Linked DNA regions of Homo sapiens: all the other regions are linked to region 1. Evidence: promoter capture Hi-C in 16 types of primary human blood cells and fetal thymus (Javierre and others, 2016). All regions are on one chromosome and are shown on one strand. Each heading gives the region's core, a stretch centred on a gene start or on the middle of the fragment in contact. The rest is flanking DNA. Distances are from core to core; before and after follow the strand shown. Region 1 holds the start of FBXO33 (F-box protein 33). Region 2 overlaps FANCM (FA complementation group M). Region 3 holds the start of DTD2 (D-aminoacyl-tRNA deacylase 2). Region 4 overlaps LOC107984674 (a long non-coding RNA gene). Region 5 holds the start of G2E3 (G2/M-phase specific E3 ubiquitin protein ligase). Region 6 overlaps MIS18BP1 (MIS18 binding protein 1). Region 7 overlaps G2E3 (G2/M-phase specific E3 ubiquitin protein ligase).

Evidence for each region. Contacts are between HindIII fragments. The CHiCAGO score rates a contact against its expected background, and 5 or more counts as called.
Region 2: a contact is called between a fragment that was not itself captured here and the fragment with the promoter of FBXO33 in region 1, in 10 of 17 cell types (total CD4 T cells, non-activated CD4 T cells, total B cells and 7 more). The highest score is 16.7, in total CD4 T cells.
Region 3: a contact is called between a fragment that was not itself captured here and the fragment with the promoter of FBXO33 in region 1, in 1 of 17 cell types (non-activated CD4 T cells). The highest score is 6.2, in non-activated CD4 T cells.
Region 4: a contact is called between a fragment that was not itself captured here and the fragment with the promoter of FBXO33 in region 1, in 12 of 17 cell types (non-activated CD4 T cells, naive CD8 T cells, monocytes and 9 more). The highest score is 30.6, in non-activated CD4 T cells.
Region 5: the fragment with the promoter of G2E3 here is called in contact with the fragment with the promoter of FBXO33 in region 1 in 1 of 17 cell types (non-activated CD4 T cells); the score reaches 5.8 in non-activated CD4 T cells.
Region 6: a fragment that was not itself captured here is called in contact with the fragment with the promoter of FBXO33 in region 1 in 7 of 17 cell types (non-activated CD4 T cells, total CD4 T cells, M0 macrophages and 4 more); the score reaches 16.0 in non-activated CD4 T cells.
Region 7: a fragment that was not itself captured here is called in contact with the fragment with the promoter of FBXO33 in region 1 in 1 of 17 cell types (total B cells); the score reaches 7.1 in total B cells.

The regions. Positions count from the first base shown.
Region 1 is chr14:39,430,654-39,434,432 of GRCh38, forward strand. It overlaps FBXO33 (F-box protein 33), which reads right to left and starts at 1,780. Exons shown (of 4, transcript NM_203301.4): 1 at 911-1,780. The coding sequence starts at 1,509. LOC105370461 (a long non-coding RNA gene) reads left to right here and starts at 1,786. Exons shown (of 8, transcript XR_007064121.1): 1 at 1,786-1,866. RefSeq lists silencers at 769-898, 1,339-1,468, 2,209-2,378 and an enhancer at 1,569-1,818. The HindIII fragment of the contact is 7,836 bases long and covers 1-3,779 here.
Region 2 is chr14:45,140,625-45,144,290 of GRCh38, forward strand. It overlaps FANCM (FA complementation group M), which reads left to right. Exons shown (of 23, transcript NM_020937.4): 3 at 8-85. Among named protein-coding and RNA genes, the nearest start is that of FANCM, 6.5 kb to the left of the region's middle. The HindIII fragment of the contact is 3,787 bases long and covers 128-3,666 here.
Region 3 is chr14:31,456,362-31,460,205 of GRCh38, forward strand. It overlaps DTD2 (D-aminoacyl-tRNA deacylase 2), which reads right to left and starts at 1,145. Exons shown (of 3, transcript NM_080664.3): 1 at 922-1,145. The coding sequence starts at 1,032. RefSeq lists enhancers at 164-749, 750-1,335, 780-989, 1,130-1,309. The HindIII fragment of the contact is 1,929 bases long and covers 1,360-3,288 here.
Region 4 is chr14:45,261,439-45,264,987 of GRCh38, forward strand. LOC107984674 (a long non-coding RNA gene) reads left to right here. Exons shown (of 4, transcript XR_001750746.2): 2 at 373-506. Among named protein-coding and RNA genes, the nearest start is that of MIS18BP1, 10 kb to the left of the region's middle. The HindIII fragment of the contact is 4,164 bases long and covers 127-3,549 here.
Region 5 is chr14:30,557,438-30,561,329 of GRCh38, forward strand. G2E3 (G2/M-phase specific E3 ubiquitin protein ligase) reads left to right here and starts at 1,721. Exons shown (of 15, transcript NM_017769.5): 1 at 1,721-1,835. It overlaps G2E3-AS1 (G2E3 antisense RNA 1), which reads right to left. Exons shown (of 4, transcript NR_151720.1): 3 at 3,300-3,398. RefSeq lists an enhancer at 1,387-1,576. The HindIII fragment of the contact is 9,808 bases long and covers 987-3,892 here.
Region 6 is chr14:45,236,800-45,240,462 of GRCh38, forward strand. It overlaps MIS18BP1 (MIS18 binding protein 1), which reads right to left. Exons shown (of 17, transcript NM_018353.5): 5 at 849-922. Among named protein-coding and RNA genes, the nearest start is that of MIS18BP1, 15 kb to the right of the region's middle. The HindIII fragment of the contact is 5,284 bases long and covers 1-3,663 here.
Region 7 is chr14:30,609,990-30,613,613 of GRCh38, forward strand. It overlaps G2E3 (G2/M-phase specific E3 ubiquitin protein ligase), which reads left to right. Exons shown (of 15, transcript NM_017769.5): 13 at 2,218-2,390. Among named protein-coding and RNA genes, the nearest start is that of SCFD1, 11 kb to the right of the region's middle. The HindIII fragment of the contact is 2,378 bases long and covers 1,113-3,490 here.

The DNA of each region.
Region 1 (3,779 bases), core at 530-3,029:
GGTGCTCCTTTTGTGAACGTCTAAACTTTCTTCTAATAAGAGCTTTACTGTAAGGTTCTTTAGAATATCCATATAAAGAAGATCTAAATTAATAGGGTTTTGGAGGTGGCGATGGAGAAAAATGATGATTGGGAGGGATACTGGGTCAGAATATAAGGCGTTAGTTCTGGAATTACAGTGAAGTCCTGATGCAAAACCAGAACAGTTATGTGCTTACCCTCTGCAGACCCTGGCCAACTCCCTCGCTGCCCGCCCGCCTCCTCCGCCCGACTGTTACTTTTAGGTGAACTACTGGGGAGAAGTTGAGTGTGGTGGTGTATGGGGAGGGACTTTCAACCCTGAAGATCAACTTCTTCCCCAATCCCTTTAACAAACACTCCTCCTCCTCTTCGGGCCTTGTTCAGTTAGCCGAAACTATTTCTGGTAAGAAAATGGCTGTTACAAAATTTCTTTTAGGCAGCGTCCTATGAGTACCTACTCCTTCCCTCACCATGAACTATTTCTAACAGATTCAGAGTCAGAAAATCGTGTTATGTGTATGTTTTGTTTCTTCCAAGGCTCACCCACAGGCCTCACCCTCCCAGTCTTAACGCTCCCATATATAAAATGAAAAGTGACAGCGCCTGTCAGCTCCATCCCACGGCCACCAAGAGGATGAATGAGTGCCTGGAAGGCGCCAGAAGTGGTGTCTGTTAAACACCCCGTCCACCACTGTTTATAAAGTATCGTGATGAGTCCCGTTATGCCTTTCCGCTCAAGGAAACCGCCTAGTTAGAACCAACACTCTCCGTCACTGAGGAAGGCAACACTGAAGTTGGCCGGGCACGTATTATGCACAGAATCTGTGTCGGGGTGCGGGGACGGAGCGACCCCCCGTTACCGGGCGGGGCGGGGCTCAGGGCAAGCCTACCTGTTGTTCCGGATGCTGACCAGCACGCAAAGCACCAGCTCCAAGTAGGTGCGCAGCACTTCCAGCCAACGAGCTGAGAGCTGCAGGGCCTCGACTTCCTCCCCTCCAGTCCCGGTGTCCGCGCCACCTCCGTCCCCTGGGCCACCGCCGCTCAGATAGTTCTCGGCGGCGAATTCAACACGCAGCTCTCGCACGAACCAGCCGCACTTGCGCATGAGGAATTCCAGCCGAGGCTGCTCCGCGGGCGAGACGCGGAGGCAGATGCGGAGCTGGGGCCACAGGGCCGGATAGAAGAGGCACTCACGCCAGTGCGAGCAGGAGGCCGAGGCCCGCAGCCGGTCGGGCGCCGGCAGAAAAGAGAAGATGTGCACGATCAGCTCGCTGGGCAGCGACGCAGCGCCCGCCGCCTGCCCGCACAGAGCCATCCGGCCCCGCCGCCGGCTGCCGGCTCCCGGCCGCCCCCGCAGTACCCGGAGCAGCCCCCGCAGCCGTCGCAGCTGCTGCAGCCGCAGCCGCCGCCACCGCGCCACCCGGGCGGCCCCGGCTCGGGTTCGAGCTCCCGGCGGTCGGGGCTGCGGCACTGACAAGAACAACAACATCAATGACTAGGAAGAAGGGGGCGGAACCGTCGTGGGTCTCGGCGGAACCAAGTAGAACACAAGTTGTGGAGAGGGGGAAAGGCCTCTGCGGGCGTGGCCTGCCGGGAGCCAGCCTCTGTCTTCTCAAACTCTACTCACGTGCGTCCGAGGCCGGCACACTGAGTAACTGCACTGCCCTCGCTCGTAAACTTCAGCGGCCCGGAAGCCTCAAGGCGTACTGTAAGGAAAAGGCAGCCCTCCCTGCGCCGGTCGGCAGAGACAGAGAAGTGGTAGGAGCTGAGTTTGACGTCGCCGCTGGTGGGAGGAGTCCGGCGCGCACCGGCGCGACTTCCGGAAGAGGGGAGCGCCCGATTGCCTGTAGGGACGGGAGGCGCGGCACGTGATCTCTGACGCACGCAGGCCGCGGGGCGGGGCGGGGCTGGGCGGGGCGGGGCGGGGCGGGGCTGGGCGGGACTGGAACCGGCACTTGGCACCCCTTACGCCTTACGGTGGCCGCTGCGCCCAGTCACATCTGTAAGTCGGTTAATTTTGGCGCTCGGTCGATGGAGGTGGCGGTACTCTGGTTTAGTGCGAAAGGTCGTCACGCTTCTTTGTAAAACGTTTCTCAGTTTGGGCTGAGGACCCTGAGCCAAAGTGGCGGCATGCAGGGTCTTTCTCAGCCATCCCACCTGCCCAGAGTAGGGTTAAGAATTCCTGAGATTGCGCCGCTGAGAGGGAGCTGGCGGACGGGCGGGCTAACCCCGGCGGGCTGTGCCGGGAGGGGCGGTGTGGGGCGTGGCGGAGGCCGCGAATGGACCTGCCCCCTCGGTCCAACCACGCAGGTGGACTTCCGCGCACTCGCTGGTGTGTGGGGAAGCAGTGAGGACAGCGTCACCCTTTGGATTCAGAGGGAGAGAAAAAAATTGGCAAAGGGATCTGAGATCCGCAGGTTGTGACCAGCCTCTTCTCCAGGGCTTGAGGAAGGGTCTCTTTTCCCTGTGCTGAGATTTAAGGCTCTCGTTGAAAAGTTCACAGTAATGACAGAGCTTTGATTTTTTTTCTTTCTTCTTCTTCTTTTTTTGCCTGGTATCCCTAACTTAGATTTTCCAAACCATGTCCCTAACTTCACCACAGCCTACTGCAAAGTAAACTCTGGTTGCAAAGAGTGGTGAAGTCAGAAAAGATTAAGTGACTTTATGTAATAATCGAGGGTTGCTTTAGGGAGGCTGCCTCTTTATGTAATAATTGAGAGTTGCTTTAGGGAGGCTGTGATGTTGGAATAGCATCGTTCTTTTGTGGTAAACACCAAGACTTTTTGGACTTTTTTTTTTTTTTTTGGTTTTAAGGAGCGGAGAATTTAATAGGCAAGAAAGAAGGAAGAAGGCTGAAGGAAGAAGCTCCCCACTACAGAGACAGACGGAGGGGGCTCCCAAGACGAAAGAGGAGACCCCCATTCTAGATGTTCTTAACCCTTTGAGGGCAAAGCTCTCCGTTTAATGCCTTGCACATATCAGGTTGCCAACAACATGGTGTGGTTTATCAATTGTGATAGGTTACTTATTCGAGCCCCTGTTTACAAGAGTTTTAGGTAATTATACCTTATTAATTTTAATGAACTCTTAGAGGGCGACCCCAGTCGTGGGTTCGGCAGGATGAAACACTACCCATTTACCAGTTTACAGACATTTAGGTCGTTTCGAGTTATGAATAATGCTGTGAACATTCATGTGCAAGTCTTTATGTGGACGTATGTTTTAATTTGTCTTGGGTAGATACCTAGGAATGAAAGTGATGGGTCGTAGGGTAGTTCTATGTATAACTTTTTGAGAAACGGAAACTTTTTCCAAAGTGGCTGCATCATTTTTCATTCCCACCAGCCATGTATGAGGGTTTCCAGTTCTCTGACTTTTTTTTTTTTAATATTCTAGAAATGCACTGTAATTTGAGATTGATATTTTTTTCTTAGCATTTTGCTAGCAACAAGCTACCATCTTGGAGATCATTAATAATTAGTCTTTAATTATTAGGAATGGTTCCTGAGTAAAATGAAAATATGTCAGTCTGCCATAAATGAAATTCATTATTTTAGAATTTCAAACTTTCTTCTTAAATGAAGTGTGGTAGGAATCCTATTTTAACAACTGTAAGCTAAAGAATTAGCTGTGAATCTTGCCCAGTTTCAATAATAAATCAGTGAATTCCAATGGTTGCACAAAATTTATCTTATCAGGCCAATATATTTACTATTAATTAAATGTATATTGAGTATGTATATTTAGCATGTTAAGTGA
Region 2 (3,666 bases), core at 771-3,270, 5.7 Mb after region 1:
TCTTAAGGTTGTAAGAGAACTAGTCAAATATACAAATCACTTTAGAATCTTGGCTCTAAGTGCCACACCAGGTAGTGATATAAAGGTAAGTAAAATGTTTTTCCATTTATTACAGTTAAGAAAATAAAGCTTTTGGCCAGGTGCAGTGAGTCATACCTGTAATCCTAGTGCTTTGGGAGGTGGAGATGGGAGGATCACTTGAGGCCAGGAATTCCAGACCAGCCTGGGCAACATGGTGAGACCTATCTCTACAAAAAATTAAAAAAATAGTGAGCATGGTGGCACACATCTGTAGTCCCAGCTACTCCAGAGGCTGAGTCAGGAAGATTGCTTGAGCTTAGGAGATGGAGGCTGCAGTTAGCTATGATTGCCACTGTGCTGCAGCCTTGGTGACAGAGCAAGACCCGTAATCCCAGCACTCTGGGAGGCCAAGGTGGGCGGATCACAAGGTCAGGAGATCCAGACCATCCTGGTTAACACGGTGAAACCCGGTGTCTACCAAAAATACAAAAAATTAACCGGGCGTGGTGGTGGGCACCTGTAGTCCCAGCTACTCAGGAGGCTGAGGCAGGAGAATGGCGTGAACTCGGGAGGCGGAGCTTGCAATGAGCCAAGATCTAGCCACTGCACTCCAGCCTGGGCGACAGAGCGAGGCTCCGTCTCAAAAAAAAAAAAAAAAAAAAAGAAAGCAAAAAACAAAAAACATAAATGAATAATCCAAATAATAAGAACTTTTATATGGGGCCAGATCAGTTTTCCATTTTGGTATTTATCTAGTTTAACATGAGAACTACAACATTTCCTACAACCTGCCTAGCTTTTTTTCAGTGGTTGCAGGACTCCCCTCCCCTCCCCTCCCCTCCCCTTTCTCCTCTGTTCTCCTCCCCCTCCCCTCCCCTTCCTCCTCCCTGTTCCCTTCCCCTTACCTTACGTTCCCCTCCTTTCCTCTCCTTTCCTTTCTTTCTTTCTCTTTTTTTTTTTTTTGACGGAGTTTTGCTCTTGTTACCCAGGCTGGAGTGGAATGGCATGACCTTGGCTCACTGCAACCTCCGCCTCCTGGATTCAAGCGATTCTCTTGCCTCACCCTCCCGAGTAGCTGGGATTACAGGCGTCCATCACCACGCCTGGCTAATTTTTGTATTTTTAGTAGACACGGGGTTTCACCATGTTGGCCAGCTGGTCTCCAACTCCTGACCTCAGGTGATCTGCCGGCCTCAGCCTCCCAAAGTGCTGGGATTTCAGGCGTGAGCTACTATGCCCAGCCCAGGAGTTTCTTTAAGTTAGTAGTTTTCAGACTGCAGTGTGCATAAGAATCCCTAAAACCTGTTAAAAATACAGGATATTTTTAAATAGTAAAATGATTTTTAAAAGTTGTTACTGTTTTCAGTTTTTTAAAGTTTTGTTTGGAAATAACTTTAGATTGCCAGAAAAATTGCAAAAATAGAAGTCTTCGTTTGGTCCTCTCCCGTCTTCCCCTAATGTTAACGTATCATATAACCATAATAAAATTATCAAAGCCAGAAAATTAGCATTGCTATACCAGTAACTAATCTGCAGATCTTGTCTGAATTTTGCCAGTTTTCCCACTGATGTACTTTTCTGCTCCAGGGTTCAGTCTGTGATCTCACATTGTGTTGTCATGGCTTCTTAGTCCCTTCTAATCTGTGATGGTTCCTCTTTTTTCTTTTTTTTTTTTTTTTGAGACGAAGTCTCGCACTGTTGCCCGGGCTGGAGTGCAATGGCATGATCTCGGCTCACTGCAACCTCCACCTCCCAGGTTCAAGCTATTCTCCTGCCTCAGCCTCCTGAGTAGCTGGGATTACAGTCACCCGCCACCATGCCCGGCTAATTTTTTGTATTTTTAGTAGAGACAAGGTTTCACTATGTTGGCCAGGCTGGTCTCGAGCTCCTGACCTCGTGATCCACCCGCCCCGGCCTCCCAAAGTGCTGGGATTACAGGTGTGAGCCACTGTGCCCGGCCGCTTCCTCTTTTTTCTTGTTTTCCATGACCTTGATGCTTTTGAAGTGTAGGTGCCAGATATTTTGTAGAATATCCCTCAATTTGGGTAAGTCTGATGTTTTCTCATGATGTGGTGACGTTATGCATTTGCTAACAATAATCCAGAAGTGATGCTGTACCTTTCTCAGCATATCCTATCAGGGAATAGATGATGTTGCTTTGCCTTTTTTACTTGTGTTGTAATCTTGACTTAGTTAAGATGATGTCTTCTTGGTTTCTTCATTGTAAAATTACTGTTATTCCCTTTGTAATTAATAACTGTCTTGTGGGGGAAATACTTTGAGACTATGTAAATAATCCTGTTTTAGCATCCAGTGGTGGTTCTTGGCTTGCAACAATTATTGTTGTGGTATTTGCCTAATCATTCTTTCTCTCTTTTATATGCATTAATTTGAATTCTTCTGCAATAAAGATTTTTTTTCCTTCTGTGGGCCACAGTCCAATACTATTTTATCAATTTTATTAAGATTGTTCCAGCTTTGTCTGTTAGGAGCTCCTTCAAGCTCCTGTGTCCTTTAGACATGCACTTTTTTTTTTTTTTTTTAAACAGGGTCTCACTGAGTCCTCCAGGCTGGAGGGCAGTGCACAATAATACTCACTGCAGCTAAATTTCCCAGGCTCAGGTGGTTCTCCCACGTCAGCCTCCTGAGGAGCTGGGACTACAGGTGCCTGCCACCACACCCAGCAAATTTTTGTATCTTTTGTAGAGACAGGGTCTCCCATTGTTGCCCAGGCTGGTCTAGAACTACTGGTCTCAAACTCCTGGGCTCAAGTGATCCACCTGTCTCAGCCTCTCAAAGTGCTGGGATTATTGGCATGAGCCACCATACCTTGCCACTCTTTCTTTTGATGCTTCTGTAACTTTCTGACATCATAAGATACATTATGCTCCTTTAGTATTTTTTCGGCCCAGCCATGGAATCAACAGTATGTCTGGGAAATTCTGGTTTCCTTTATTGAAGAATGGTAAAAATGCAGATTTTGAGACCTGTCCTATAATATTCTGATTTTAGTAGCTCTGAACGGTCTTCCATATTGAGTAAGGATTTTTTTTTTTTTTTTTTTTTGAGACAGAGTCTCGCTTTGTCACCCAGGCTGGAGTGCAGTGGCGCGATCTCGGCTCACTGCAACCTCTGCCTCCCGGGTTCAAGCCATTCTCCTGCCTCAGCCTCCTAAGCAGCTGGGATTACAGGTGCCCACCACCATGCTCAGCTAATTTTTGTATTTTTAGTGGAGACGGGGTTTCACCATGTTGGTCAGGCTGGTCTCGAACCCCTGACCTCGTGATCTACCCACCTCAGCCTCCCAAAGTGCTGGGATTACAGGCGTGAGCCACCACGCCCGGCTTGAGTAAGGATTTTATTGGATACATTCTGTGGCAGCCTTTTAAAACTTTTTTTTTTTATTTTTATGGGTACATAGTAGGTATATATATTTATGGTATATATGAGATATTTTGATACAGGCATGCAGTGCATAATAATCACATCAGGCTAATGGGGTATCCATCACCTTAAGCATTTATTCTTTTTGTTACAATCCAGTTATACTCTTTTAGTTATTTTAAAATGTAAACTTATTACTGACTATAGTCACCCTATTATGCTATCAAATATTAGATCTTATTTATTCTATTTTTTTGTACC
Region 3 (3,844 bases), core at 1,074-3,573, 8.0 Mb before region 1:
GGCGACAGATCGAGAATTCATCTCAAAAAATAAAATAAAATATAAATAAATAAAATATAAAAAATAAAATAAATGTAAAATAATAACTAAAATTGTTTTAAGTAATGCTAGATCTGGGACCGAATTCAGCAGAAAAGGCGAGCGAATGAGATTTTGCTACACTGAAGTTTCTGAGTATCTACAAAAGTCTTAATTATGAACTAATTTTTTTCTTACATTTCAACGTACTCCAAAAATACGTCAGAGGCCTTAAAGAAAATTTTATTTGTTTTTGTATGCAGTGGGGGCAGGCGGTCTTAAAAAGTAAAGTATGTATGAAAGTAGAAGGAACTCATAGTGACATAAATGTTTTAAATTCTTTGGAGAAATGTGTTTGATAAGGCAACATTGTTATAAAAGTAGAGGTCTTTGTTTCTCAGTTGGAAATTGGTCAAAACTTTTAAAAGGCTTCTTGAAATAGAATTGTTTCTTAGGAAATCTCATTTCTATGCTAAGACCAAGTCAACATAGGGGGGAATTCGACGCGATCTGAGGCGTAAGTCAAAGCAGATCATGAACTCTTGCAGCAAACCTGACCTACAAGCTTGCCCCCGACCAGCATAGACCACGAGCTGCAAGGGGTCTGAGACAGTAAGGCCTGAAGTTCACCGAACTCAGTTTCAAATACCTGTGGTCCCCCCAAGAAGGGAGACACGCTCTTCCTCTCGGGTGCTACAACTGGCGCTGGGGAACGGTGATGCTGGACCGAAAAGACAAGCGCAGCCAGGCAGGCCACCGCGGCCAGCTTCAAGCTGACCCGGTATCCCCGCGGCCGGACCGCCGGTCTCAGAGGGAGACACAGAGCGGACGAGTCACCGAGACAACGCGGAAAAAACCGCCCCGCACGCCGGAGGATAACGAGAGCTGCCGGGCTGACGTTACCTCCACCCACTGGGCCGCGACGTCCCCATCGGCTGGGCGAATTTGCAGCCGGGCGTGCAGGCACTGCTGTAGGAGCGCCCGGGCCTGAGGAATCCGGCTACCCTCAGCCATGGCTTAAGCCAGCGCCGCGGCCGGACAGTTACTAGGCCATGTGTCGCTGGCCCCTCCCTCGACGCGCTGGCGGGGCAGACGAGGCGGGGCACGACGAAGGGCCTGCGCCGATTGCCCAGTGGCCCCGCCCTTAGGAGGGCGGGGCCTCGGACTGACTCTCGAATGTCCCGGATGTGCGGTCTTGGAGGCCGGCGTAGCGCTAAGCTTCTCGGCAGCACCTGCCCAACTCTGTAGAAGGCGCTCAGTGTATACTTTTATTAAACGATTGAAAAGACTCGTTAAATCTCTTTCCTACAAACCTTTTAAGAAACATTTTTCACCTCAGAAAGCTTAGGTTCCAACTGTTGAAAAATTTTAAATCTGCTTGATTTAAATTCATGTTATGCCCATATGAAAGTAAGTAAACAAATAATCGAATCATAAAGCAAGCGGAGATGGAACTAAAAGCTATATATACATCCTTCAAAATTTTCCTTATTCCAATCAATAAAAACAATGCTGCCTCCTCTATCGGGAATGCCATAAATTATTCTGATTCCACAGTTGTGAAAAGGTATTGGTATGCTATACGAATACACATTCTTTAGAAGATATCCTTGTTAAAAATGTTCTTATCCAAGAAAGTATGATTGTTAATAACTTAGCCCGCTACTAATACAAAAATAAAACAGCTTATTCTGATGCATATGACGTAAATTCTGTGATGCATTTTCTGGAAGTACATATTAGAATGTAAATAAAACTAAACAAGGGCTTGATTTTCTTTCCCATGTAACGTATTCCTTAAACATGCATCAGATTAGCATTTATTTGTCTATGGGCTTGGATGGTTTAGATGAGGAATAATAGTGTTACCCTGATTGCATTACCCAGGTCATTGATTTGGGCTCAGTTGACACAATGTGCCTATACATTCGGATCTGTTGTTTAAAAAGATGACATCACTGACAGTGTTGCTATCCATACAAAGTAGTGTGACTGAAGAAAATAGTCCATGCATAATCAACAGTCCTTTGTACACAAAATCGAAGCTGCTTGTTTGCTGGTTATCTTGCAGCCAGGTTTACACTTTTAGTAAAAACAGAAAGCAAAATCTCACATGATCTCTGATTGTTGCATTGCAGGGATTCCAACAGTTGTTGACATTTGTCTGCAAAGCACAGACAAGTTGAATTGCTTCATGTCTGCACCTTTATGTCATTATAACTACTGAGTCTCTTTTCTCTCCGGCTCTCAGATTCAGATTTTACAGGCCTGAAAGAAACTTTGACATACAAACCATTAGCTATGTCCCAGAATAAGAAAAGACTTTGGTGTCCATTTGTATGTGGCTGCAGGAAATAGGGAGGTCTATAGAGAATAGGTTATGTGGTTCGCAGAGATCTTTCTACAGAGAGGGTTTCTTTAACAAATTGGGAAACCCTTCCTGTGAGTAGAATAGATGGAGTATGGATGGTAATGGTTAGCTTCTCAAAAATCACTAATTACTTTAAACCCTCCTATTGAGTGAGGATCTCGTGGACATTGCTGTAGGTACTGTAATAGGCTGTGGCTCACTTATTTTTTACTTCTATTTGCAGAAGGCTATAGAGAGTGGCCACCAAAGACAGCATTTCCTTTCTGTATTTTATTTTTTGAACACTTAGTTTCATTCTGCAAATAATTTAAGAAGGAAGGACATGCATGCAATAAAATAGTAAAATGTGAATTAAAGCATTAGAAATAAAGAAACTAGAATTATGTCAGTAAGCCACAATGGGGGAAATTGAAAACAGGTAAGACAGTGGTTCTCAACTGGAGTGCTGAGATGATATAGTATGCAGCAAAATTTTCACAAATGTATAACTTTAATTTTTGTTATAAAACAATTATGTTCATTGTATGTAGTATTGAGGTGCTGTAGGTTGTACAATTTGTTTCAAGTTGGAACTAAAGGCAAAGCATAGCATTAAGTTGGCTTTACAAGAAGATGGTGGTTCACTGGAATGTGAGAGAGCTTTGCCTTGTCATTGTATGAGAAATCATTGAGCAGAGATAATTCTCAAACACCTACAATGCTGAAAGTGTACCATATGGATAGGGGATTAATTGTGGATGGGTTCTATGTCCTCTGAGATGGTACAATAACTAATTTAGTGTTATTTTACCTTCTTTAATTCATTTAAGTTGGCTGCCCTAAATTCTGGCATTCAAAGTATTTCACAAACATGAAAAGTTTGAGAACCATTTCTAAAAGATTCCTTAGAGTTGATGCTAAGCTTCCTGGTTGTAAATAGGAGAGGATAGGGAAGGGCAGTATAATCTATTTCATAGTTCTAGGGATAAGCAGAGCTTTTCCTCAGATTTAGCTCTCAGCTGAGCCTCTTACCTGAGACTTTATATAGGATATGTTAATAAATACAAGTGCAGGCCTGGCGAGGTGGCTGATGCCTGTAATCCCAGCACTTTGGGAGGCTGAGGTGGGTGGATCACGAGGTCAGGAGATGGAGACCATCCTGGCTAACACGGTGAAACCATTTTTAGTCTCTACTAAAAAATACAAAAAATTAGCCAGGCGTGGTGGCGGGCACCTGTAGTACCAGCTACTCGGGAGGCTGAGGCAGGAAAATGGCATGAACCCAGGAGGCAGAACTTGCAGTGAGCCGAGACTGCGCCACTGCACTCCAGCCTGGGCAACAGAGCGAGACTCCGTCTCAAAAAAAAACCAAAACAAAACAAAACAAAAAAAAACCAAAAAAAAACAAGTGCAACTGGAAGAGGTAGGTATCTTATCTTAGGGAAGACAGTATCTAGCCCTCTAGTTTAAAGCCCA
Region 4 (3,549 bases), core at 959-3,458, 5.8 Mb after region 1:
AAGACCTTGCTGCAGGAGTCATCATGGTCATCATGGTAGTTTCACTTCAAGGTGGCATCACTCTTGTCATGCAACAGGCTCTTTTCCTATGGGGGGGGTCAATAAGGGCAATCAAAAATGCTGCAAAGCTTTTGTACAAGAACATTTCCTCTTTTAAATTTTTTAATTGACAAATAGTTATTGTACATGTTCATGGGGTACATGGTGATGTTTTTATACATGTAATGCTTGGTGATCAGATCTGGTTAATTAGCATATCCATGATCTCAAACATTTATCTTCTTCTGGTGTTGGAAACATTCAGTGTCTTTTTTTTGCTGTTTGAAATTATATTTATTTTTTTTTCTTTTTTCTTTTTTCTTTTTGAGACAGGGTCTCTGTCGCCCAAGCTAGAGTGTGGTAGCACAATCTTGGCTCACTACAGTCTCTGCCTCCCAGGCTCAAAGGATCCTTCCATCTCAGCCTCAGGATTAGCTGGGACAACAGGCACATACCATCATGCCCAGGTAAATTTTGTATTTTTTGGTAGAGATGGGATTTCATCATGTTGCCTAGGCTGGTCTCTAATTTCCAGGCTCCAGCGATCCACCCTCCTCAGCCTCCCAGAGTGCTGGGATTACAAGTGTGAGCCACCATGTGTGGCCTGAAATTATATTCTTAGTAACTATTGTCATCCTACAGTGATATAGAAAACTAGAACTTCTTATTCTTATCTAGCTGTAATTTTATAACCTTTAACAAATCTCTCCTTATCCCTCCCTTCTCCCTATCATTCCCAGCCTCTAGTATCCTGTATTCTACTTTTTACTTCTATGAGATGAAATTTTTTAGCTTCCACATATAAGTGAGAACGTGTGATGTTTAATGTTTTGTTCCTGGCTTATTTTTCTTAACATAATGTCCTCCAGCTCCATCTATGTTGTTGCAAATGACAAGATTTCATTCTTTTTTTATAGTTTAATAGTATTCCATTTGTATATACCACATTTTCTTTATCCATTCATTTGTTGTTGAACCCCAGGTGGATTCTAAATCTTGGCTATTGTGAATAATGCTGTAACAAACATGCAAGTACAGTTGTCTCTTAGATATACTAATTTCCTTTCATTTGGATAAATGCCCAATAGTGGGACTGCTGGATTATATGGTACTTCTGTTTGTAGTTGTTTTAGGAACCTCCATCGTATTTTCAATAGTGGCTCTACTGGTTTACATTTCCACAAACAGTGTTTTAAGAGTTCCCTTTCCTCCACATCCATGCCAGAATCTGCTTTTTTTTGTCTTTTTGATGATAGCCGTTCTAACTGGGGTGAAATAAAACCTCATTGTGCTTTTTATTTGCATTTCCCTGATGATTAGTGATGTTGGGCATTTTGTCATGTGTTTCTTGGCGCGCTCTCTCTCTCTCTCTCTCTCTCTCTCTCTTTCTCTCTCACTCTTGCTCTTGCTCTGTTGCCCAGGCTGGAGTGCAGTTGCACAATCTCAGCACACTGCAGCCTCCACCTCCCAGGTTCAAACAATTATCCTGCCTCAGCCTCCCAAGTGGCTGGGACTACAGGTGAGTGTCACTATGCTCGGCTAATTTTTGTATTTTTTCCTAGAAGAGACTGGGTTTCACCATGTTGGCCAGGCTGGTTTTGAACTCCTGGCTTCAAGTGATCCACCTGCCTTGGCCTCCCAAAGTGCTGGATTACAGGTGTGAGCCACCGTGCCCAGCCTGCCATTTTTATATATCTTTTAAGAAATGTCTGTTCAGATCATTTACTCATTTGAAAATCAGATTGTATTTTTGTGCTATTGAGGTGTTTGAGTTCCTTGTATATTCTGGATATTAATCACTTGTCACATGAGTTATTTGCAAATATTTTCTCTCATTTTCTGGTTTGTCTTTTCATTCTGTTGATTGCTTTTTAGTTATATATAATCTCATGTATTTATTTTTGCTTTTATTGCCTGTACTTTTGAGGGCTTATAAAATTTTCCCAGACCAATATTCTGAAGCAGTTCACCTATGTTTTCTTCTAGTAGTTTTATATTTTCAGGTCTTCCATTTATGTATTTGATCCATTTTGAGTAGATTTTTGTATAGGGTGAGAGATGAAGTCTAGTTTTATTCTTCTGCATATGGAGATGCAGTTTTCCCAAGACCATATATTGAAGAGACCATCCTTTCTCCCAATGAGTGTTCTTGGCATCTGTGTCAAAGATTAGTTGATTGTAGATTGTAGATATGTGAATTAATTTCTGGGTTCTCTATTCTGTTCCATTGGTCTATGTGTCTGTTTTTATGCCAGTACCATGCTGTTTTGGTTATTACAGCTTTGTAGTATATTTTACAGTCTGGTAGTGTGAAACCTCCAACTTTGTGCTCAGGATTGCTTTGTTTTTTGTGGTTCTATACAAATTTTAGGATTTTTTTTCTATTTCTGTGAAGAATGTCATTGATATTTTGATGGAATCTGCAGATTGCTTTAGATAGTAAGTTGCTCCTTTTTTTTTTTTTTTTTTTTTGAGACACAGTCTCACTCTGTCACCCAGGCTGGAGTGCGTTGGCACAATCATGGATCACTGCAGCCTTGACCTCGCAGTATAAGTTAACCCCCCGACCTCAGCTTCCTAAGTAACTGGGATGATAGACATGTGCCACAGTGCCTGGCTAGTTTTTGTATTTTATTTTGGTAGAGACAGAGTTTTGCCATGTTGTCCGGGCTGGTCTGGAACTCCCAGCCTCAAGTGGTCTGCCCACTTTCTTGGTTCAGCATTTTCTTGGTTGCTGTAGACCTTTGGCTATTCTCCAGAGCTATCTTGACTCACTACAACCTCCGCCTCCTGGGTTCAAGTGATTCTCGTGCTTCAGCCACTCAAGTAGCTGGTACTACAGGTGTGCACCACCATGCCCAGCTAATTTTTGTATTTTTAGTAGAGACAGGGTTTTGCCATGTTGCCCAGGCTGGTCTCAGACTTCTGGCCTCAAGTCTCCCCCACCTTGGCCTTACAAAGTGCTGGAATTGCAGGCATGAACCACCATGCCCAGCCCTAATCATTTTTTTTTTTATCTCTAATATTGCCATTTAAAGAAAGTTGTATAAGCAAAATCATTATACCTGTAACCTTTTGAGATTGGCGCTTTTTCCCCCCACTTAGTATAATGCCCTTGTATCCAAGTTGTGTGTATCAATAGTTTTGATAGTTTCCTTTTATTGACAGATATACCCACAATTTGTTTAACCATTCATCTATTGATGGGCATTTTGATTATTTCCAGTTTTTTTTTTGCTATTACAAATATAACTGTTATGAAAAATCATAAGATTTTATGTGGACTTAAGTTTCACTTCTCTGGGATAAATGCCCAGGATGGCAATTTCTGGGTAACGTGAGAAGTATTTAGTGTTTTAAAAAAACTGTTAAATTATTTTCCAGAGTGGCTGTACCATTTTGCATTCCTACCAGCAGCAGTATGTGAGTGATCCAGGTTGTTCACATTCTCACCAACATTTGAGTTTTAGAATGATCACTTTGACAGTGTGTGGAGAATTGATTAGAAGT
Region 5 (3,892 bases), core at 471-2,970, 8.9 Mb before region 1:
CTTCCTTAAAGAACAAAATTGCAAAATTAAAAAAAAAGTTTATTATCTTAAAAATTCAACTGGTGATAAAGTGAAAGGTAAAAGTTCTCCATCTCTTCCTACTCTTATTTACCAGCCCGCTCCCAGAGATGTTTACAGCTTAGGTATCCATCCCAAAACTTTGTATACCATATACACACACATACTTTCAAACAAGGATACTACAGTCCTTCTTAAACTTTTTCAGTATTTCATTTCAGTACCCGCTGATCTACTTCATTACTTTTAGTGCCCGCAGCGTCAGTATATCAGATGCTAAAGTATCATAACTTACATGTATTTAACCCCTTCCTTATTTGTAGACACAGATTATTTTCTATCTTCCACTGTTAAAAACAGTACATCAGTTAATAGCTTTACACACCCCCTGTGTCAGATTACCTGTAGCATAGGTTCTCAGAAATCTAGTAAACCTTTCAAACTGTATTTTTTTTTTTTTTTTTTTTTTTTTTTTGAGACAGAGCCTCGCTCTGTCGCCCAGGCTGGAGTGCAGTGGCGCAATTTCTGCTCACTGCAAGCTCCGTCTCCCGGGTTCACACCATTCTCCTGCCTCAGCCTCCCGAGTAGCTGGGACTACAGGCGCCTGCCATCACGCCCAGCTAATTTTTTGTACATTTAGTAGAGACGGGGTTTCACCATGTTAGCCAGGATGGTCTCGATCTCCTGACCTCGTGATCCACCCGCCTCGGCCTACCAAAGTGCTGGGATTACAGGCGTGAGCCACCGCGCCCGGCCCTCAAACTGTATTTTTGACAAAGGCTAAAGGTATGCTGTCATGGTTTGGTTTGTACTGATCCGTTTAGGTAATTCAATGTTATTAGATGTGAGGATGATCTGGTGGCAACATCAATCACAGCCATAAAGGTCAGAGTTATTTAGCGCCCCTCACCCCCTAGCATTTCCAGTCCTTCCTTTAGTTTCTGGAAGCTCCCAGATGTCTCTTCAGAAGCTTAAGACGTTTTGGATCAAAGACATACTGTGGTCCTCGATAAAGGAAAAGATACTGTTGTTTCAATAATCTCACGGGACAATACTTAATAATCTCGTAAAGTGAGCCCTTATCTGAGGGGGGAAATAAAATTTATTGCCTTCTAACACCATCAAATAGTTTATTTGAGACCAGGAATTGGTCCGACCACTTATTTTCAACTTTTGGCTGAATACGGGTGAACTTGGCTTTTTGTTTTCCCTAAACCCAGGACAGAAATAAATTAAAAGCCCTGACTGTGCCGGGATAGGACTGAGAGGCCCAGGAAAGGCTGCACTAAGTACTTGGAGGGTTTGTTTTTTTCCTTCTTGCTGCTGCTGCTGTTTCCTCGAGGATGAAGGGAAAGATAAAACCCTCCTGCCTCCGTTCGTGCTTTCATTCGCCCCATTCCTCGAAGGTGACGAAACTTCAGCACATCTCTGTCCATTTTGGAAAAAAGAGGATCCCCTCAAGAGCAAATAGGCGGAAACAATGACCCCGCGCCCGGAGTTTTTCTGAGCTCCTAAATAGGGAGAGAGACCCGACAAAACAAACAAGCGAAGGCGACACAGCCAGGTTAGCACCGAGCAGCAGCGCAGGAGCGCCAGAAGGGCGGGAGCACACGGGCCCTTCCCCACAGCCAGCGCCTCCGCGGGTCCCACCCCTCGAGGGCGGGGCCGACCGCTCTTTCCGGGTTTGCGAGCGGAAGTGGACGAATTTGAATCCTGTGGGCCGTTGAATGTGGCTGCTCGCGGTCGGCGTGCCCCGACGTACAGCGGGCCGGGAAAAGTGGCACTGAGGCTCTGGAACTTCTGCCCAGCTCTCCTTGGTGAGTAAATGGGGAACGGGAAGACGCAGAACGTTCCAGAGAGAGAAGCAGGACCGTGGGGTGGGAGAGGGTGTCAGGAGGCCGGACGTCGCAGCCGGGGCCTCGCAGTGCTTTTGGGGACGTCTGGTGCTGGGGCCCGGCCTGGAGACTAAGGGAATTCGGGGCACTGGGGGCGTTTGCTGGACCAGCGCTCTCGACGGTTGCGCACGCCAGCCAGCTCTCAGTGTTGAGGATTCGGAGGCCCTGCCGGTCCCCCGCGAGTAAACCTTGTTTATACGCATCCTCCGTGGCTTTTTTTAAACCCGTAGTTTATTATTTCCACCAATTCGGCTCGAATGCTGAAATTTTAACAGTAGTTAAATCTCACTGTGAAGGCGTTGCCACGTTTAAACAAATCTCTTTTAATGAAAGATGGAAGGTTGGGGCGGGTTTAGAATGAAAAGATGCTCTACGTGGCTCCGCGTTCCTCCTGAGAGAGATACCCGGGCAACCTTGATTAACTCTGGACTGCAGGGAAGTGACAGTCTTTGAAATGCCTGAGTGGGATTTAAACTGAAATTCGAGTGTCCTTTGTATTTAAAACCCGGATATTTTTCTTTCACGGTTGACATTTTTCATGTACCGCAAAAATCCGAGACTCCTATTTAAACCGGCTGTGGTAACAGCGGTGGTGATTAACTAGGGTCTTAGTTTGCAAACAATAGGGATAAGGTTTAGTTCCACCGCCCTGCCTTTTCGCCTCCCTCATTCATTGGCCAACTGGGTTATTATGGAGTCTTTTTGGAAGTAATCCACTAATGCTTTGAGCATCTGTTTCTTTGGGTTTTATTGTTTTGGGCTTTTTTTTTTTTAATTTTTAATGATGAACTATCTGAAATATGGAACTCTGTCTAACCCAGTAGTAAAGTCATGCCTTCTGGAATGGTTTAAAAGTGTGCCATAAATGTAAACTATAAATGGGAACTTTAAATGTGTACAAGTTTTACATCTTTATTAAAAATCGTCAGTTTTGTGTAGCTTAATACGAAAAGATATTTTAAGTTCCTTTTAAGGTTTTAACACCAGGATATTGTACCATTTAAATGTATAAATATATTTTTAAAAGTAGGACTTCATAATAATCAGAATAAAAACATTCCTTCATCCAGTGCTGGCTATTCCAGCACCCCCATTCTTCCTGCTATTGAACTTTTAAGTGTTAGCCAGGAAGAATAGACTTAAATACTCGGTGTTTAGGATAGTTAAAATATGAGCATTTTTCATATAGTGTCTTTGTAACAGAGACATTGGCTATACTTCTCTAAGCCTTTCTGCTCATTTCATATGTGCTGTCAACAAATGGTAATTTTTAAAAATTGATCGCTATATCCTAATCTCTTTATTTTTTTCTACCTGAATTATTTTCATTGGATTTTTGCTCTTTCTTAAATCAGTGAGTTTCAGAATTTATTGTGTATACACTACCTTGAAGGATTTGTTCAACAATGCTGATTCCTGCACTTCAGATCTCAGATTCTGAATCAGTAGGTCTGGAGGATGGCATTGAACAGTCTGCATATTTAACTGAAAGGTTAGAAAATACTGTGAGTTTTCAAAACACTGATTTGATCTTTCCTAGAAAGGCATTATAATGTGTTGATTAAAGACATGGAACTGGGGCCAGATTGCCTTGGTTTGAAGCCCATCTCCACCACTTGATAGCTAGGTGACCCTGGGCAAGCTGTTTAACCTCTCTGCTTCATTTCCCTCTACCGTATGATGAGGTTACCTACTTTGTAGGATTATTGTGAGGATTGAATGAGTTAATATATACAAAGACCTTAAAATAGTGTGTGCCACATAGCAAATGATACATAAGTCTCCAATTACATTGAGTTACTAAACTGTAAAAACCGCATCACATACATTCTCTCATTAATCTTTACAATATCGCTGAGGTAGTTACTATCTTCAAATAAGAAAACAGGCTAAGAGGGGCTCGGTAATTTGTTCTCACACAACTAGTAACACGTTGGAACTGAAGTCGGAAATTAGATTTAACTCAAAAGTTTATGCTT
Region 6 (3,663 bases), core at 848-3,347, 5.8 Mb after region 1:
CACAAATGAAGAAACTGAGACTGACAGGGGATAAATAACTTGTCCAGGTAATACAGATAGTAGGCAGCAGCAATGGAATTCCAACAAAGGCAATCTACACTGCATCTTTAATAGTAAGGAAATGGGCATAAAGCAGACAGATAAAGAATGGACAATACAGATTTTACACATTCACTTATAAACTTACATATGAGTACCTTAAACAGTTATAACTTTTTTTTTTTTTTTTTTTGAGACAGAGTCTCGCTCTGTCACCCAGGCTGGAGAACAGTTATAACCTTTTATTACAAATATTTGTAGCACTAAGAAACTGGTCTTGAAGAATAGGAAATGGTGCTAATAGAGTAGCAGAATTAGGTAAAGCCCACTTACCTGGTGATGCTCTCACTTTAGGGAGAACCAGAAAGTGCCAATGATTACTTAATATGTAGCCGTATGGCAAAGTTTTAAGTAATTTTGATTCCTTTTCTGGATCAGTAATTTATATCTGGTTGTCCCAATTTAGATGTGAGAATCTGGACTGAAATGCATGTAGTAAATATTAACTGATCATATATAATTAAGCAGATAATACCAGTCCACTTATTAGCACCTCAGAAAAAAATAAACCACTATACAAATTTGAACTGTCATTATTTTAAGAAAAACTTGAGTAAACATGCAAAAACAAGAAAGCTGGTAGCAATCAACATGGCTAGGACCTGCACAGTAATTTTACTTTTTTGCCTTCAGTTCATAACCTTGTTAGGTCTTTGCTTTGTGGAGGATGCTATTTCTCATGCATTAACTCTTAAGTGCTTACACATAACTAAAGTTTTATTAAAAGAATAATGAAATAGTATACTTACATCAATTTTCCTTCTACACATATAGCAGTATTATTATTGATGCTTTTAATCATCCATTCCTGTAGCTGAACTACCTAATCAAGTATAAAACAAAGAACATATTTCCTGTATTACTTGCAGCACAAGCATTACAAAATTAACTTACATTAAAAGAAAAAACTTGTCTAAGTAATCCAAATATTCCTTAGTGTCATCGATGTAAGATTCACATTCTATTCTAAATAGCAATAGGTAAAATTCTTGTATACAATGAAACAGAAAAGAAAAGACTGAATTCAGGTTGTATTGCATTTGTTCTACAATCAAGAAGCAATTATACTTCAAATACTCTATCACCAAATCTCAACTGGTGGGGACAAAAATCATGTAAAATCCCAAGGTACAGATTAAAACACCAAGTCCTGCAAAAAGCCCAGTAACTTGGAGTGAAAAGGAGTTAGCTATGTTTTGTCCTTAAAAAATTAAGAGTTTTTTTTTTTTTTTGTAAAGTTTAGACCTGTATTCCAATTTTCTACAAACTAAAAAGGTAACTGCTGGTAATCTAGATTTAACAGTATTTTATTCCAAAGTAAACATCTGAATAGCTCAGAGAACTCTTTATTATCTTACTACAAGTAAAATATCATTCTAATGGAAAACATTTTATGACAATCTATGCAAAGAAATTCTTGAATATAAATTTCATAAAATTTAAGATTGAACTACTTCTGATGAGAAAAAAAGTCAAAATTTATGGAATAATTTGAGTGGCAATTTACTTTATATGTAAAGTTACACATTTACAAATAAAAACAAATTCTCCAGTGGTAGTTTTATACTGAGTCAGGAAAAGACATTAAAATGGGACAGTCTTTGTTATGGCACATGTTGATTATGTTCATTTAAAAAATTATAGGTGATGGCTGAGGACAGTTGCTTAAACCTGTAATCCCAGAACTTTGGGAGGCCAAGTCGGGAGAACTGTTTGAGCCTAGGAGTTCAAGACCAGCCTGGGCAACATAGTAAGATTCCAAAAAAAAGTTTAAAAATTAGCTGGGTGTGGTGGTACACACCTGTAGTCCCAGCTACTGGAGAGGCAGAGGTGGGAGGATCACTTGAGCTTGGGAGGTCGAGGCTTCAGTGAGCCTCAACAGGTGATGGAACAAGACTCTGTCTCAAAAAGTAAATACATAAAAATAAAAAATTATAAGTAGGATAGTTTATAAGCCATGGGTCTCAGTAGTAATGGCGAGGGGATCCACCATCTTGTCTTACCCTCACCCAAGACACAAATATGGCTTCTGTTTTTAAGCCCCTTTTAAATGTTTCTTTCTGAAAAAAGTAAAAAATTATAGGTAGGACTTGGGGAAGTAACAGTAAATAATACTCTCTTTTTGCCTTCTCCCACATTTGGAACTACCTGAGATATATCAACGCACCAGTCAGATGGAGATAATAATCCTGTACCATACTATTATACTGCTTATATAAGATATCAAAATGTTCATTCATTATTCATTCAACAAATATTTGTTGAGTTCTACACACTGTTTTAGATAGTGGAGATTGAGTGAGAAAGTAAACAGCTGCCCCTCTTAGGGCCAACATTCTTGTGTGTGTGTTAGGGTTGGGGGTGGAGGCAAGCAGGATAATGGCATCTAAACCAATATGAAAATGTCAGGTGGTGGTAATTACTATGAAAAATAAATAAAAGGCATTAGATAAATGAGGTGCTTTTTAAGACAAAACAGTCAGGGAACGTCTTGGAAGAGAGAACTGAATAAAGTGAGCAATGAGTCACATGGATATCAGCAAAAAGATTCTTCTAAGCACAGAGAGTCAGCGCAGAGATCCAGGTAGGCAGCATGGAAGGCATAATTTGAAAGGAGTAAGTGAGAGGGAATAAGTGGTGAGGTTGGAGATCTCCAGGATTAACTAAGTACAGCTCGGTAAACCATGGTAAAGGCTTAGTGTTTTCTATTGAGATGACAAGTTACTGGGGATTCTGAACAGAACGACAAAATTTGATATTTTAAGGGACTGTTGGGTAGAGATGAGACTATATGAAGATTTTAGCTTGTCTGGAAAACAGACTGAAAAAGGAGAAAAGCAATACTGGAAGCAGGGAGACCACTAGGCTATGACAGTCATCCCTGGACTAGGAGGTAGTGGTTGAACAGTGAGAAGAGGCCGCATTCAGGAGAGTAGAGCCAATGGGATTTCTTCATGGTTTGGATGTGGAGCATGAGAGAGAAACAAGAGTCCAAGATGAATCTAAAATTTTGCCTAAATACTGGGGCCAATGGTATTACAATGTACTAATACAGGACAATGGAGAAGGTATGGTAAAGAAATCAAGAATAAGAATCTCACATTTTCTCACATTTTCAATTTGAGATGCCTATCTGATATCAATAGAAAAGTCATATAGACAACTGCACATGAGTGTGGAGTTGAGAAGAATTTTCTGTGCTGGAAACATATTGGAGAGCTATCAGCATAGAGATGGAATTTAAAACTATGACACTGGAAATACAGCCTAGAGAGTGCGTGTAGGTAGAAAAACAATTTCTAGGGCTGATCTGCAGTAATTCCAACATTTTTAGGACTGATTCTGGGGAAAGAAAGAGGAAATAGCAAAGAGGACTGAGAAGGGATGGGCAGCAATGTAGCAGAAAATCAGGAACGATCCTGGAATACAAAATATAAAGCGTAACACTTCTTTAGAAAGACATTTTGGGGCCAGGCGTGGTGGCTCACACCTGTAATCATTTCCTTTTACTTTAGGTGGTAAGGACATTGCCCTTTCAATTGCCCCCTCAATTTTCTCCCTACC
Region 7 (3,624 bases), core at 1,052-3,551, 8.8 Mb before region 1:
TCCAAAAGTACAGTTTTGACCATATTGCTTTCTTCCTCAGGAATCCCCCAGTGGCTTCTCATTGCCTGTTGAACGAAGTTGAAGCTCTTCATTAGGGCATTTAAGACCTTCACCTCTCTTCATGGCTTTATCTACTCCAGTTTCTGTACTTTTTATCCAGTGTTTGTTCATTTATTTAAGAAATACTATGTATTCTGTACTGTTTTGTTACTAAAGATAGAGTAGTGAAGCAAAGTATCTGCCTTCTTGGAATTTACATTAAGAGAGAACACAGAAGATAAACAACAAATGTAATATGCCATCACGTAGTAAAATGTATTATAATGCTAAATAAAACAGAATATGGCCGGGCGCAGTGGGTCACGCCTGTAATCCCAACACTTTGGGAGAACAGGTGGGTGGATCACCGGGGTCAGCAGTTCGAGACCAGCCTGGCCAACATGGTGAAACCCCATCTTTACTAAAAATACAAAAAAATTAGCCAGGTGTGGTGGCGCGCGCCTATAGTCCCAGCTGCTTGAAAGGCTCGCTTGAGCCCGGGAGGCAGAGGTGGCAGTGAGCCGGGATCATGCCACTGCACTCCAGCATGGGCAACAGAGTGAGACTCCATCCCAAATAAATAAATGTATACATAAATACATACATGCATACATACAACAGAATAAAAGGAGATGGATAAGGGTTGGAGTATATACAAGTTAGGTTTTAGGCTAAACTTCTGTATCTCATAGACCCAGAAAGACAGTGGCTCAAACAAGGCAGATGTTTACTGTTCTGTAAAATCCATTGTCTAGATTTTAGGGTAAGAGTTGGCAAAAAATGGCCTGTAAGTCACGTTCTGGCTTGTTGCCTGTTTGGTAAATAGTTACATTGGAATGCAGCCATGCCCATTTGCTACTGATCTGACTGCTTTCACGCTACAGTGGCAGAGTTGAGTAGCTGCAACAGATACCATATAGTTTGAAAAGCATAAAATGCTATCTGGCCCTTTATACAGATGGCCCTCTGTTTTCGAGATAGAGTTGTGATTTACAAAACCGTCTAAGGACTTGAGTTCCTTCCTCTCATTATCGTGTAACACTTAGCATTATTGTTTGCATCCACATGGTTGAAGCTTGCTCTTAAAGGAGAAAAGTGGAAGTTGAGAGCAGGGAAGTTTGACATGTTGTTTTTACTTACATCCCATTGAACAGTCATGTAGCCCCACCTAGCTGCAGCAAAAGTTTGGCTATGTGCCCAGCTGAAACTCAGGGTTGAGGGTTTGCAGGGATGAGGCAACATATACCCAATTATTACTCCGACAGGGTGTAAAGATAGTATTTTGAGCAGAATAGTCATGAAAAACTTAGGAGATTTCAGCAGAGATTTTGAATGAATGAAAAGAAGTCATGTAAATCTCTAAGAATGTTTTAGGAAAAGGAAATTGCAAGTAAATTTTCTGTTAATGGATTGTTTCCTATTTTTAACTTTCTCCATCTGTACCTTTAAGAGCTAACCTGTATGAAAGTGTCTTGCACATAAATGGCCAAGTATTTCTTTGTTTATGCTGTTCACTAAAATATTCTTGATAAAATTCTGTCCATCTTTTAATTCTCAGCTGTTACTCTTTTTCATGAATTCTCAGGTCATCTTTCTTGCCTATCTAGTACTAGGTAACTTTTCTCTTTTTTTTTCTTTTCTTTTTAAGAGATAAGGTCTCAGTCTGTCACCCAGGCTGGAGTACATTGGTGTGATCATAGCTCACTGAACCTCCAACTCCTGGGCTCAAAATCCTTCTACCTCATCTTCCAGAGTAGCTAGGACTACAGGTGTATACCACCCACACCAGGCCTTTTTTTTTTTTCTTTAGAGGGGGGCTAGCTGTGTTGCCCAGGATGTTCTTGAACTTCTGGCCTCAAGCAGGCCTCCCACCTCAGCCTCCCTAGTAGCTAGTCTTACCTAGTGCTATATAATTTTTCAATGTCAGTTATTTCCTTTTTTATAAATAGTTTCACGTAGTAAAGTGGCATTATACTCTGGATTTCTTGAAGGCAGAAATAGACAAATTTGTTGAACTGGATGATCAGACATTTATTCTAGAAGAATATTTCTTGGTTTACTTTTACTGCACCCATATGTACTAAGAAATTTGAGTATAAATTAACAAGTATCATTTGAAATGTGCATGTCACTCAAAAGTAAATGAGTAAAGTGGCTGTATTTTCTCCTTCATTACAGATAAATACTGCAACAACTGTAGCTGACTTAAAGTCAATAATAAATGAATGCTATAACTACCTTGAGTTAATTGGATGTCTCAGACTTATAACGACATTAAGTGATAAATATATGTTAGTAAAAGACATACTTGGCTACCATGTAATTCAGAGAGTCCACACACCCTTTGAAAGGTAAGTTGTTTCTATTAATATATGGCTCTTTCAAATTACATGTTTAAAGTGGTTAATTATCTTGTAATGTGAGATATATTTGGTAATAAGTGAGATGTTTTTCTCAGAAAAAAATTTAAATGCTATTTTTAAATAATAACTTAAGCCTTTTTAGGATGGTTACTGTTCTGATCATTTAATAAGCATTGTGTAGGTCGGGCATGGTGGCTCACTCACACCTGTAATCCCAGCACTTCGGGAGGCTGGGGCAGGCAGATCATTTGAGGTCAGGAGTTTGAGACCAGCCTGACCAACATGGTGAAACCCCGTCTGTACTAAAATACAAAAATTAGCCGGGCGTGGTGGTGGGTTCCTGTAATCTCAGCTACTTGGGAGGCTGAGGCAGGAGAATTGCTTGAACCCAAGAGGCGGAGGTTGCAGTGAGCTAAGATCATGCCACTGCACTCCAGCCTGGGTGACAGAGCAAGATTCCCTCTCAAAAAAATGAAAAAAGAATTGTGTAAATGTATGATGCTTTCATAGAAATAACCACTGCTTCAGATTATAATTTTTTTCTAAAAAATATTCTTTTTAAAACTCTTACCACATGAGCCAACTATTCTGTCTCTGTGCATTCATTTAATAACTATTTATTGAGTACCTTTTATCTGCTGGGTAATACATATATTGACCGTTCTTTGATTAACAAGGTATGTATGATTCCTGCTGTCCTTTAGTTTAGAACACTGGTCTAAGTTAGACAACTTATGTATCTCCTTACACTCTTACAATTTTTTTAAACAATGGAAATACACATATGAAAGTCTGTAATCACCATCCAGATCTAACACTTATTAACTTGTGCCTGTCTTGTTCATCTTTATCCTACCCTTGTTATTGACTCCAGTATTATTTTAAAGCCAATACCAGATATCATCTCAAACCTGATAAATTCATTTAAAAAAAAGTAGTATCATTAATCCATAGATTTAAATATATTTGATGTGTTTAAAATCTTTATAGTTACTATTACTACTGAAGTTTATATGTCTTGGACCAGTATAAGTCTCTTTATATTATTGTTTTTAATTCTTTCGATGTGAGCCTTAATGGTCTTTGTAAGCTTTTTTGCTATATGGTATCACAAGGTGTTTCAGACTCATTTTGTACATTTTAGCCTAAGGAACCTTTGTTATTTTTAATGGGAAATGGGTAATTCACAACCACAGTCTGGATGCTAGAGATTCTTAGTTTT